2 separate regions of the Homo sapiens genome follow, and region 1 is linked to region 2. The links are contacts of gene promoters, found by promoter capture Hi-C in human tissues and cell types (Jung and others, 2019). All regions are on one chromosome and are shown on one strand. The core of a region is centred on a gene start or on the middle of the fragment in contact, and the rest is flanking DNA. Distances in the headings are between cores, read along the strand shown.

Region 1 (4,516 bases), core at 2,007-4,506, 520 kb before region 2:
TCTCTGAGCCTCAGTTTCTTCTTCTGTAAAATAAAGGGAGTGGCATCTCCCTCTTGCCCGGAGGTGGGCCTGGGGGCTGCAGGCTGCCCTCCTGATCTGCTCTGCTGCCAGATGGGCACAGATAGGCGGGGGGATGACAGCCCTGAGTGAACCCAGAAGGCAAAGTGGTTAGGAACACACCCCAGAGGCCAGGCAGGGTCCTGCAGGGTCCTGCAGATTCAGAGAAAGAACCCATTTATCCTGGGGTTTGGCAGAGATTATGGTTCCGGTAAAGGGTGGTCATTAGTAAAGTCCATGTCATGCAGCCGAGGGCCTGTGGGAAAGGTAGGGTTCAAGGAGGAGTTAGTGGGAGAGGAGAGTGAGGAATCAGAGTTGGTCAGTCAGACAGTCAGTCAACAAACACAAACTGAGCATGGCCTCTGTGCCAGGCATGGTTTTAGGCTGTGGATAACCAAGGAGCTTGCTCAGCAGCCTGGGGTTCTTTGCAGCCCAGGGTGTCCCTGTCAGGAGTGGGCACTGTGTCTCTGAGGAGCAGTGGAGTCACCTGCAGGCCAAGGCTGGGAAACCCTCAGGAGTGTGGGGGAGGCCACCCCCTGAGGTGTGGTCCCCCCCTGGGTAGAGAGTGACTCAGGCCCCGCCCAGCCTCCCCACTGCCTGGGTTTGGTTTGTTTAAGAACAAATTAGTCACAGAGCAGGCAGCTTTCCCGAAAATAAAATGAGAATCCCCAGGAAACAGGGAAAATGGAAGGCGGGCGGTGAGTCAGCACGTGCTGCCCCCCGGGGCTCCAGTTTCCAAAAGGGCCTCCTGCCCTGCTCCTCCTCCTCCTCCTGGGTCTCTCTCTTTCTCTTTTACTTTTCCTCTGGTCCCCTGTTGACTTTTTCCCTCACCGAACTCACTGAATCTCAGTCCTCACACACGCGCACCCACTCACTTCCTGCCCCTTATCGTTTCCCTCCCTGCATCTGTCTGTCTGTCCAGCCTCGATCTGTGCACCCACTGGCTCCTTTGGTGTTTACAGAGCACCTACCAAGTCCAGGCACTGTGCACCACGGGAGGGAGTGGGGAGGCAGAGAAGGCCTAGGTCTCTCCTCCCAGAGCCCTTTCTTGTTGGAAAAGGAGACTTGTGCCGGGATGTGGCCAGCCACGGCCGCGCCTGGGTCCCCTTCCCCAGCCCCTGCTCCTGTGGTTGGTTCCCCCGGATGGACAGAGCTGGGCCCCCAACAGAGAACGATGCTTGAGGATCCCATTCCAAGCCAATGCCGTCTCTGCCTCCCTCCCGGCTCGGAGCACAAGGCCTGCACGCTGAGGGCGAGTGCGTGGTGGAGCAGGAGCTTCGGGGCGGTGTTTCTCACCCAGCCATGTCTCCCCTGCCCAGAACCGGGCATCAAGGGGAGTGAACTGCGGGCTGTTTTGAATTTGAGGGACAAGCTTGGTTGTCCCTTGTTCCCTGCCTCCCCATTCCAAGCCTCCTGTGGCAGAAGGAGGCCAGGCCATATCTTGAGGGAGGATTCTGGGCGTGCCTGCTTCACCCCAACAGCCCAAGGTCAGGGGAGGGGCTCCAGGCCGCAGGGGGTACAGCAAGGGGAAGCCACTCAGGCCCCTTCCCATCTGGACAAGTCCCTGAGTGCCAGGGCCCTTTGACTCTCTCCTGTCTCCCTCCTCCCCCATCTCCCAGCTAGAATCCAGGCTCTCCCACCACCCTCTGGGACCCCTGGGGCCGCTCACTTTCCAGACCCCTCTAATTCGGGCACTGGCCCCTCAGGAGCCGGGGAGGTGGCCCTGTGCCTGGGTCATGGGGCTGGGCTGGGGTCTCCTGCCTCTCGGGTCACTGTCCAATCTCTGTCTGCAGCTCTCGATGAATAATTTAGTTGTTCGAATTACAGGAAAGAGCTATTTAGCTTCCCTTCCCAAATCGTTAAGAGCTGATGATACAAGACGTCTTGGTTCCTTCTAAGGAAAGTCCCTTTCCCAGTGAAACTGAGCCTTGTGGGCGGGGATTTCTCCCCCTCCAACTCCCTCACCAATCATTAACCAATATCCGACAGTAATAGGGTTTTTTCTTTTTTCTTTTTTTTTTTTAAGCTCAGCTATATATATTCTAAAGTATATGTCAGTTCTTGGGAGCAGGGAAGTATAACTGATCTGAAGGGTGGGGTGGGGGTTCTGCTCTGGAAGGAGCCTTGGGTGAGCTAATGGTGACCCCAAGTCATAATTGCAGGTCCCTGGAGGGGATTTAAGATATAGGAAGTAGCACTTCGCAAGCCTGAGAGGAAGAAGCATGGGGTGTAAAACTGTTCAGGTGGTTCAAGAGTGCGTGTGCGTGTGTGCATGTGAGTGTGCATGTGTGTGTGAGAATGTGAATATGCACATGTATGCGTGTGCACGAGGGCGCACACGTGTATGCACAGATGCACACGCATACCTGTGTGATTGTGCATGTGTGCGCTGTGCATGTACATATGTGCGTATGTGTGCACGTGTGTGAGTGTGTACGTGTTTATAGGAGCATGACTGCCTGAGCGGCATGGCTGGAATGTGTGGACCGGGACCAGGTGGGGGTTTGCAGTGCAGGGACAGCACTTCTTGTTTTCAGAGCTGGGAGAGTTGGGGTGGGGAATCTGGGTAGGGCTGGCCTCCCAGTCAGGTGACTTGCAGGCAGGGAGGGGAGGGGCTTTAGGAAGTTCAGAGAGTGGGAGGGAGGAACAGGGAAGGGCAAGGGTGGGGACCTTGGCTGGAAGGTTCAATGCAAAGTGAGGCGACATCCAGGATTGAGCATTCTGGATCCTAGACCCAGGGATGGCTGGGAGGTGGGGCTCCCCTGGGTGAAGGAGCCAGGTGGGTGTGTGAGCCAAGAGTTAGCTGTGGCTGCCAGAGGAGGGGGCTGGAGACGAGGCTGCCAGCCTCAGCCTGGCTGAAGAGGACCTCCCAGCACCAGGCCAGGGGAAGGTGGACAGGTAGGGAGAGAAAAAGGAGGGAAGGAATGAGGACTGAGCTAGCAGGTCCCACACTTTGCAGGTGTGGTGAGGAGGAGAGAGGGAAGAAGGGGGACCCTCTGCAGTCCTGGCTGGCAGGAAGCTTGGCCTGTGCTCTGGCAAGCACACCCTGCCCTGCTGGACTCACTGGAGGAGTCTGTTCTCTGTGTGCCCGGCAGAGGGATAGACACGCATTTCCCACGACGTCACCCACCCCAGAACCACTTAGCCTGCAGCCTCCCCCAGATTCCCTGACTTCCCACCTGAGCAAGCCCAGCTGGCCTCCCGCATCCACTCAGGTGCCCTCCGTGTGTTGTCTTCCGGACAGGGGCACCCAACACAGGTGCAAGCAGTGCGTGCTAGGGCCGGAGAGGAGGACAGTGGAGGCTGCTCCCAGCCTCCTTTTTCTTCCGTACTCCCACCAGCACCTCCACCCCACCTCTGAAACTCCACCCCAATTCTGGGGAGTGTGGAGATGACTGAGGAAGGGGGGATATTTCCAGAGCCACTCCAACTGGTCCCAGATGCATCAGAGGGTGACCCTGGGAGGCCAGTCCTTAGGCAGCTGCCTAAGGACCCGACTCTGGAAGGGAACTCAGAGACAAATGAGGAGCAGACCAGCCCCAGCTCCGGGTTTGCAGATCTGGGCAGAGTGAGGAAAAGGCCGGGAAAGAAAAACCAACCCCCGGAATCTATCTCAGAGAAGCATCCGTCCAGGTAGAGAGGGACCCCAGCCCGACCGCCACCCTCACCCAGGGGAGAAGCCTAGCAGCTCCCTCTGGGTTGGGTGTGCATGTGTCATCCCACCAAAGTGTGCTGGGATTGGAATGGGCACGACCTTCCCCCAGAGAGATCGCCTGGGCAGCCCCGTAAGTGTCCAGGGGTCCCCTGAGAGCATTCTATGGTCCCAGCCTCCCACAGGAGCCCCAACAATGCTCTCTGGCTCCTCATCCTCCTTGGTGGCAGCTCCTCTCCCCACCAAAGGGCCATGTGGGTCCCAGCTGTGACCTCAGCACCCCTCAGCCAGATGTGGACCCGCCCCAGACTCCATCACTCTCTCTGCTCTCTTCACAGAAGAGAGGTGGAGGGAGGACCCCACGGGCCTCGCTGGTGGCAGGCGGTGGGGATGTAGCGGGGGAGTGTGTGGGGGGGGTTAGAGTTAGGACAGCAGCCCCTCCCCAAACCCCGATCCCTGAGCCCCAAGCCTGTCTTGGCTCCATGGGGCAAGGGAGGGGTAGTCAAGCCCCACAGAAGAGAGGCATCCCCCAGTTTCCATGGAGAAGGATCGGGGTGTCCTGATTTGGAGGCTTCCATGCTGTCTGCTGCTCCCTGTGGATACACAGTTGGGGCGCTCTCTGTTCCTCCCTAGTCCCTTCTCTCCTCCCTGCTTGCCTGGGAGGCTTGGGCAGGAGGGCACCTGGATGGTGGCCACTAGACAGAGCCCACCCCCCGCCGCTTGACCTCTGCCCTCTCCTGGGTGGGAATGGCAGGGCCCTCTTTGGTGTCAGGAGCTGGTGGCCTCTGTGGCCTCTGTCCCGCCCGC
Region 2 (4,840 bases), core at 1,516-4,015:
AATAGCCAGTGCAGTCCAGCCTGGGCAACATCGTGAGACCCCATCTTTAAAACAAAAAAAATCGTGGCTCACGCCTGTAATCCCAGCACTTGGGAGGCCGAGACGGGTGGATCAGGAGGTCAGGAATTCAAGACCAGCCTGGCGAAGATGTTTCTCTACTAAAAATACAAAAAAACTAGCCAGGCATGGTGGCAGGCGCCTGTAATCCCAGCTACGCAGGAGGCTGAGGCAGAGAATTGCTTGAACACGGGAGGCAGAGGTTGGAGTGAGCCGAGATCGCGCCACTGCACTCCAGCCTGGGCAACAGAGCAAGACTTGGTCTCAAAAAAAAAAAAAAACAAAAAACAAAAAACTTCTGTAAAGAAATTTCAGAAGCTTATTTAAAAAAAAGCATTATAAGTTGTCTGATTTGAGAAAATAAAAGAGCCTTTTCTCATGAGAATTATCAAAGACTTCTCACCAACTGAACAATCACTGCTGCGTCACATGCAGACAATTCAACGGAATCAAAAAATACACAGAAGCCTCGCAGACTCACCTGGGATGTGCAGACTTGGGCCTGCTGTCCTACTGCGGCATGGAACCAGGATCTTAACGGAGGGCTGAGTTTGGTTGGGCAGGTGCTACGCGGAGCTCCTGAATGTAAGCGCTCCTGGACTGTGGCCTGTTCAAACACCGAAGCCGCAGAGCGGGCGTCAGAGCCTGTGGGAGGGACAGGGAGACCATCAGTGGAGGCGACTCTTCCTGTGCCTTCTCTTCAGCTACTTCCCAGGGATGCGGCGCGCACCGGGAACCCTCTACCACGAAAAAGCCGTCCAAGGAGCATCCACGCGTGCACTCAGGATGAGGCGGGTGGACCGTACTACCTCATCACCAGTTGTTGTAATGCACACGATATGAACACCTTAACCTTGACCCCAGACAAGCCCAGAGAAGGAAAACCTCCCCAACACCTGCCAGTCAGCTCCAGTCTAATCTTATTTCCAAAGAGTAAGAGGTAATAAATCCCCAAGTTTTGGATTTAATGAACCAGTAAAACTTCAATAACAACAACAACAAACCTCAGGGAGTAATAGGAGTTGCCAAAATTTTGCTTTGCTAAGTGTGGATTTTCTCTTTCATTACCATCTACGATCACTATGATTACATAAAATTAAGGTTCGTAAAAACAGTTTACAGTGAAAACATTCAAACACACAGATGGAGAACCGCACAGGGAGCACATGAGCCCCCCTTATTCAGCCTCAGTAACTACATCTGACCCATCCTGAGTCACTTCCCATCCCCAGGTAATTCTACAGCAAATCTCAGACCTATGACTTCATCCATAAATAAAAGCATACCAACTCCCGAAAAATGTGTAAGGAAATGATCTCAGAATAAAAGCCATCTACAAAGTGAAGACATCCAGTCGTATTAAAAACTCCCCACAATATCACTGCTTTCGGTTAGGACTCACATCTACCCTGGAAGGTGAGAACTCTGTCATGCACAACCAACGCTTGAGAACCACTTAGGGAGGGGATAAACGAACCTTGGGAGATGTAACCCAGTTTCACTCGAGATAAGTAACTTTGAACTTAACCCACTCCTTAATGTAGATGCAGAGATTTTGAACACAATTTTTCAAGTGGGACAGGTCAATCTCTACTTCACCAATTCCACCTAAAACATTAAGCAATAACCTAAACAACGCTCGCTCGCTCTCTGACGTGTAGGAGCCCGAGACAAGTGTTCCTGTAATCACTAGCAATCCCTCCGACGCACACACCATCCACACTCTACCCAACTCAGGAAGGATGCTCTCTCTTGTCCAAGGACAGCACAGGCCTCATCCACATTTCCACCTGCGCGAACCCCAGCCAGCACCATTTAGGCTCATTCCCGCTCCCTCCTCCTTCTAAAGTCACTTTTCCAGGATGAACTGCAACGGACGCTCGCAGGGTCAACCACGTGCTGGGGAGAGGAGCCCACGGAAGCAGCGGCCTCCCGGGGCCCAGCGCCGCGCTCCAGGGGCCTCCCGGGCGACTCCGCAGCGCCTGCCCCGAGCCCGGCCGCGGACACAGCGACCCGAGCACCTCTCCCCGAGCATGGCTCCGTGGCGAGCGTTACGTAAACGGGGGCGCGCGGAGTCTCCCCTCTCGTGTGTCTGGGTTTGGCGGCCGCCACTCCAGCCCCAGGCCCAGGACCCCCACGCCACCCGCCAGAAGCAGCAGCATCGGAACCGCACCCCGCCCCGGGCTCCATGGCCTCCTCCGCAACCACGAGGAAGGTGCCCGCCCCGGGGCCGCACCCGCCCCGCTGAGCTCTGCGGCCGCACGCGACGCCCTCGCCCTGATTCCGACTTCAACCTCTCCGAAGTTGACCTGAATCCTGCACAGACAGCGGGCCCCGGCGACCCCCATCACCGGCCCGGAGCCCGGGGGACGGCGGAGACCGGCGAGGACAGCCCGGCCCCGGACCCTCCTCGGGAATACCCGGGCTCTGGAGAAGCGAGCTCGCGAGCGGGCGGAGCATCCCGGGTCCTCCTCGGGGACGGCCGAAGCCCTGCGCGGACCCGCGCCCACGTTCTCCCTGAGCGTCCCGGCTGCGCCCGCCAGCCCTTCCCGCGCCCCAGGCCTCGCGGAACCCCCCGCCCCGGTCTCGTCCCCAGGCCTGCGCACCGCCCCGACCCGACCCCAGCCTACCCCGGCCTCTCCGCGGGCGCGCCACAAGCCTACGCAGCCCTGGCGACTCCTTCGGCCCGCGGCCCAGCACGCGCACCATCCGGGCCTCCGGCGCCTCACACACGTGTCACCGCGACGCTTAAAGGCGCCGCACCCAGCGTTCGCGCTGCGCTAACTCCGAAAGGGTTGGGAGGCTTTAAGAGGCGGGGCTAGATTCCGCTAACTCCCTGTCCCCGCCCACCGCCGCTTCCGTGTCGCCTACGTCACCTCCCCATCACGGGACCCCGCCAGCCTACGTGATGACGCAAGTGCGCAGAGCCACAGGCGCTCCCGCCCCTGTGCCGCGGCAGGGTGACGTCTCCGCAGCGCACTAGAGGTGCCGCTACTTCCGGGTCGGCCGAGCACACCTGGCGGCGTGGCGGACGCCTGAAGTGTGACAGTGGCGCGCGCCCCCGCCCCAGAACGGGGACTCGAGGGACTTTGCCCACCCCTGCAACAGCCCTCCCGCGCTGTCTCCCGGGCAGGGAGAAGGCTGGGCTCCCCCACCTGCCCCTGGCCGTCAGGTGGCTGTGGAGAAGCGGAGGCGCGGGCGCTCGGCCTTAACGTCCCGGGCTCTGGGGCCATCCGTGACTCCCACACGCGGAGCACCTGCAGTTTGGGGAGGGAGGGATCTGGGAGCGATCGGCCAAAGCCTGGGGCTGCCGAGGAAATGGCTCTTCGGAATTAGGGATCTGAGAGTGTGAGATTTGACCTTTGTAGGCTGGTGGCGGCTGTGCAATCTCTAGCTCCACCCACTCCCTCCAAAAGCTTTGTCCTCTGACAGCTCTGCGAAGGTTTTAGCTGAGTATTTGTGAGCACGTATTTCTTTTGCAGTATTTTTAAAAATCCTCTTGATCTGAGGCAACTTCGCTGGCTTCCTCCCCATTCCCTTGGGCAGGTTGAGAGTGTTGGTTCCTGGCCTGACCTCAGAAACTCAGAGAAGCACAGGATGGGCATAAACTACTTTATCCAAAAGGCAGAACTTTGCAAACACAGTCGTATCTGCTGTGTCTTTTTTGATGTAAGTAGGAATGATGAGTAGGGTGAAGTCACAGGTAAACAACCCAAAACGAATTTCCATGCCCTCCCCACGGATCCTAAAGCAGGGACTGGAGATGGGGAGAGAGGCTAGATGTACTTGGAACAAAATTCACCTTGTATTTATTACCTGGGCGCTGGTGTTTTTTGAAAAAAGCAAACAAGATAACCATATTAGTCTGATGCTGAGACTATGCCCTATCTGTAAGAATCCTTGGGCTGGGCGCGGTGGCTCACCCTTGTAATCCCAACACTTGGAGGCCAAGGTGGGCGGATCACCTGAGGTCAGGAGTTCGAGACCAGCATGGCCAACATGGTGAAACCCCGTCTCTACTAAACATACAAAAATTAGCTGGGTGTGGTGGTGGGCGCCTGTAATCCCAGCTACTCAGGAGGCTGAGGCACGAGAATCCCTTGAACCTAGGAGGCGGAGGTTGCAGCGAGCTGAGATGTCGCCACTGCACTCCAGCCTGGGCGACAGAGCGAGACTCCGTCTCAAAAGAAAAGAAAAGAAAAGAAAAAAAGGCAGGGCACAGTGGCTCACGCCTGTAATCCTAGCACTTTGGGAGGCCGAGGCAGGCAGATCGCTTGAGGTCAGGAATTCCAGACCAGCCTGGCCAACATGGTGAAAACCTGTCTCTACTAAAAATACAAAAATTAGCTGGGTATGGTGGCGCACGCCTGTAATCCGAGCTACTAGGGAGGCTGAGACAGGAGAATCGCTTGTACCTGGGAGGTGGAGGTTGCAATGAGCTGAGATCGTGCCATTGCACTCCAGCAGCCTGGACAACAGAGCAATACTTGGTCTAAAAAAAAAAAAAAGAAAGAAATGCAACGTAGGTCTCTCACGAAATTAGCCCAAATCTTCAGCCATCTTCTACAGGCTGTGAAACCAGGAGAGGAATTGAGTCCATCTTACCTTGACCTCCCAGGCAGGGAGCGGACCAGGTAATTTTTGGGTGACAATACAACTATTCTGTTAATGCACCTTTTTCTTGAGGTAAGTTCTAATGTGATCCGTTTTGGTTACAGCTTTCTATAACAGAATATTTTATTCTTTCATCTTTAATGTTTCTCTAGTTTTCTCTTTTAGGATT

The links. Contacts are between HindIII fragments. The study calls those that stand out against the background at their distance.
Region 1: a fragment that was not itself captured here is called in contact with the fragment with the promoter of USP36 in region 2 in 1 of the 25 tissues and cell types used here (aorta).

The regions. Positions count from the first base shown.
Region 1 is chr17:78,315,034-78,319,549 of GRCh38, forward strand. LOC105371912 (a long non-coding RNA gene) reads left to right here and starts at 683. Exons shown (of 2, transcript NR_188632.1): 1 at 683-755. RefSeq lists enhancers at 100-858, 372-571, 535-829, 1,994-2,063, 2,495-2,789 and a silencer at 642-691. The HindIII fragment of the contact is 6,869 bases long and covers 1-4,516 here.
Region 2 is chr17:78,838,049-78,842,888 of GRCh38, forward strand. It overlaps USP36 (ubiquitin specific peptidase 36), which reads right to left and starts at 2,766. Exons shown (of 21, transcript NM_001385174.1): 1 at 2,688-2,766; 2 at 539-702. It overlaps LOC124904067 (a long non-coding RNA gene), which reads left to right and starts at 3,066. Exons shown (of 2, transcript XR_007065923.1): 1 at 3,066-4,840. RefSeq lists enhancers at 220-734, 735-1,249, 2,844-3,033 and silencers at 2,174-2,693, 3,154-3,253. The HindIII fragment of the contact is 7,372 bases long and covers 1-4,840 here.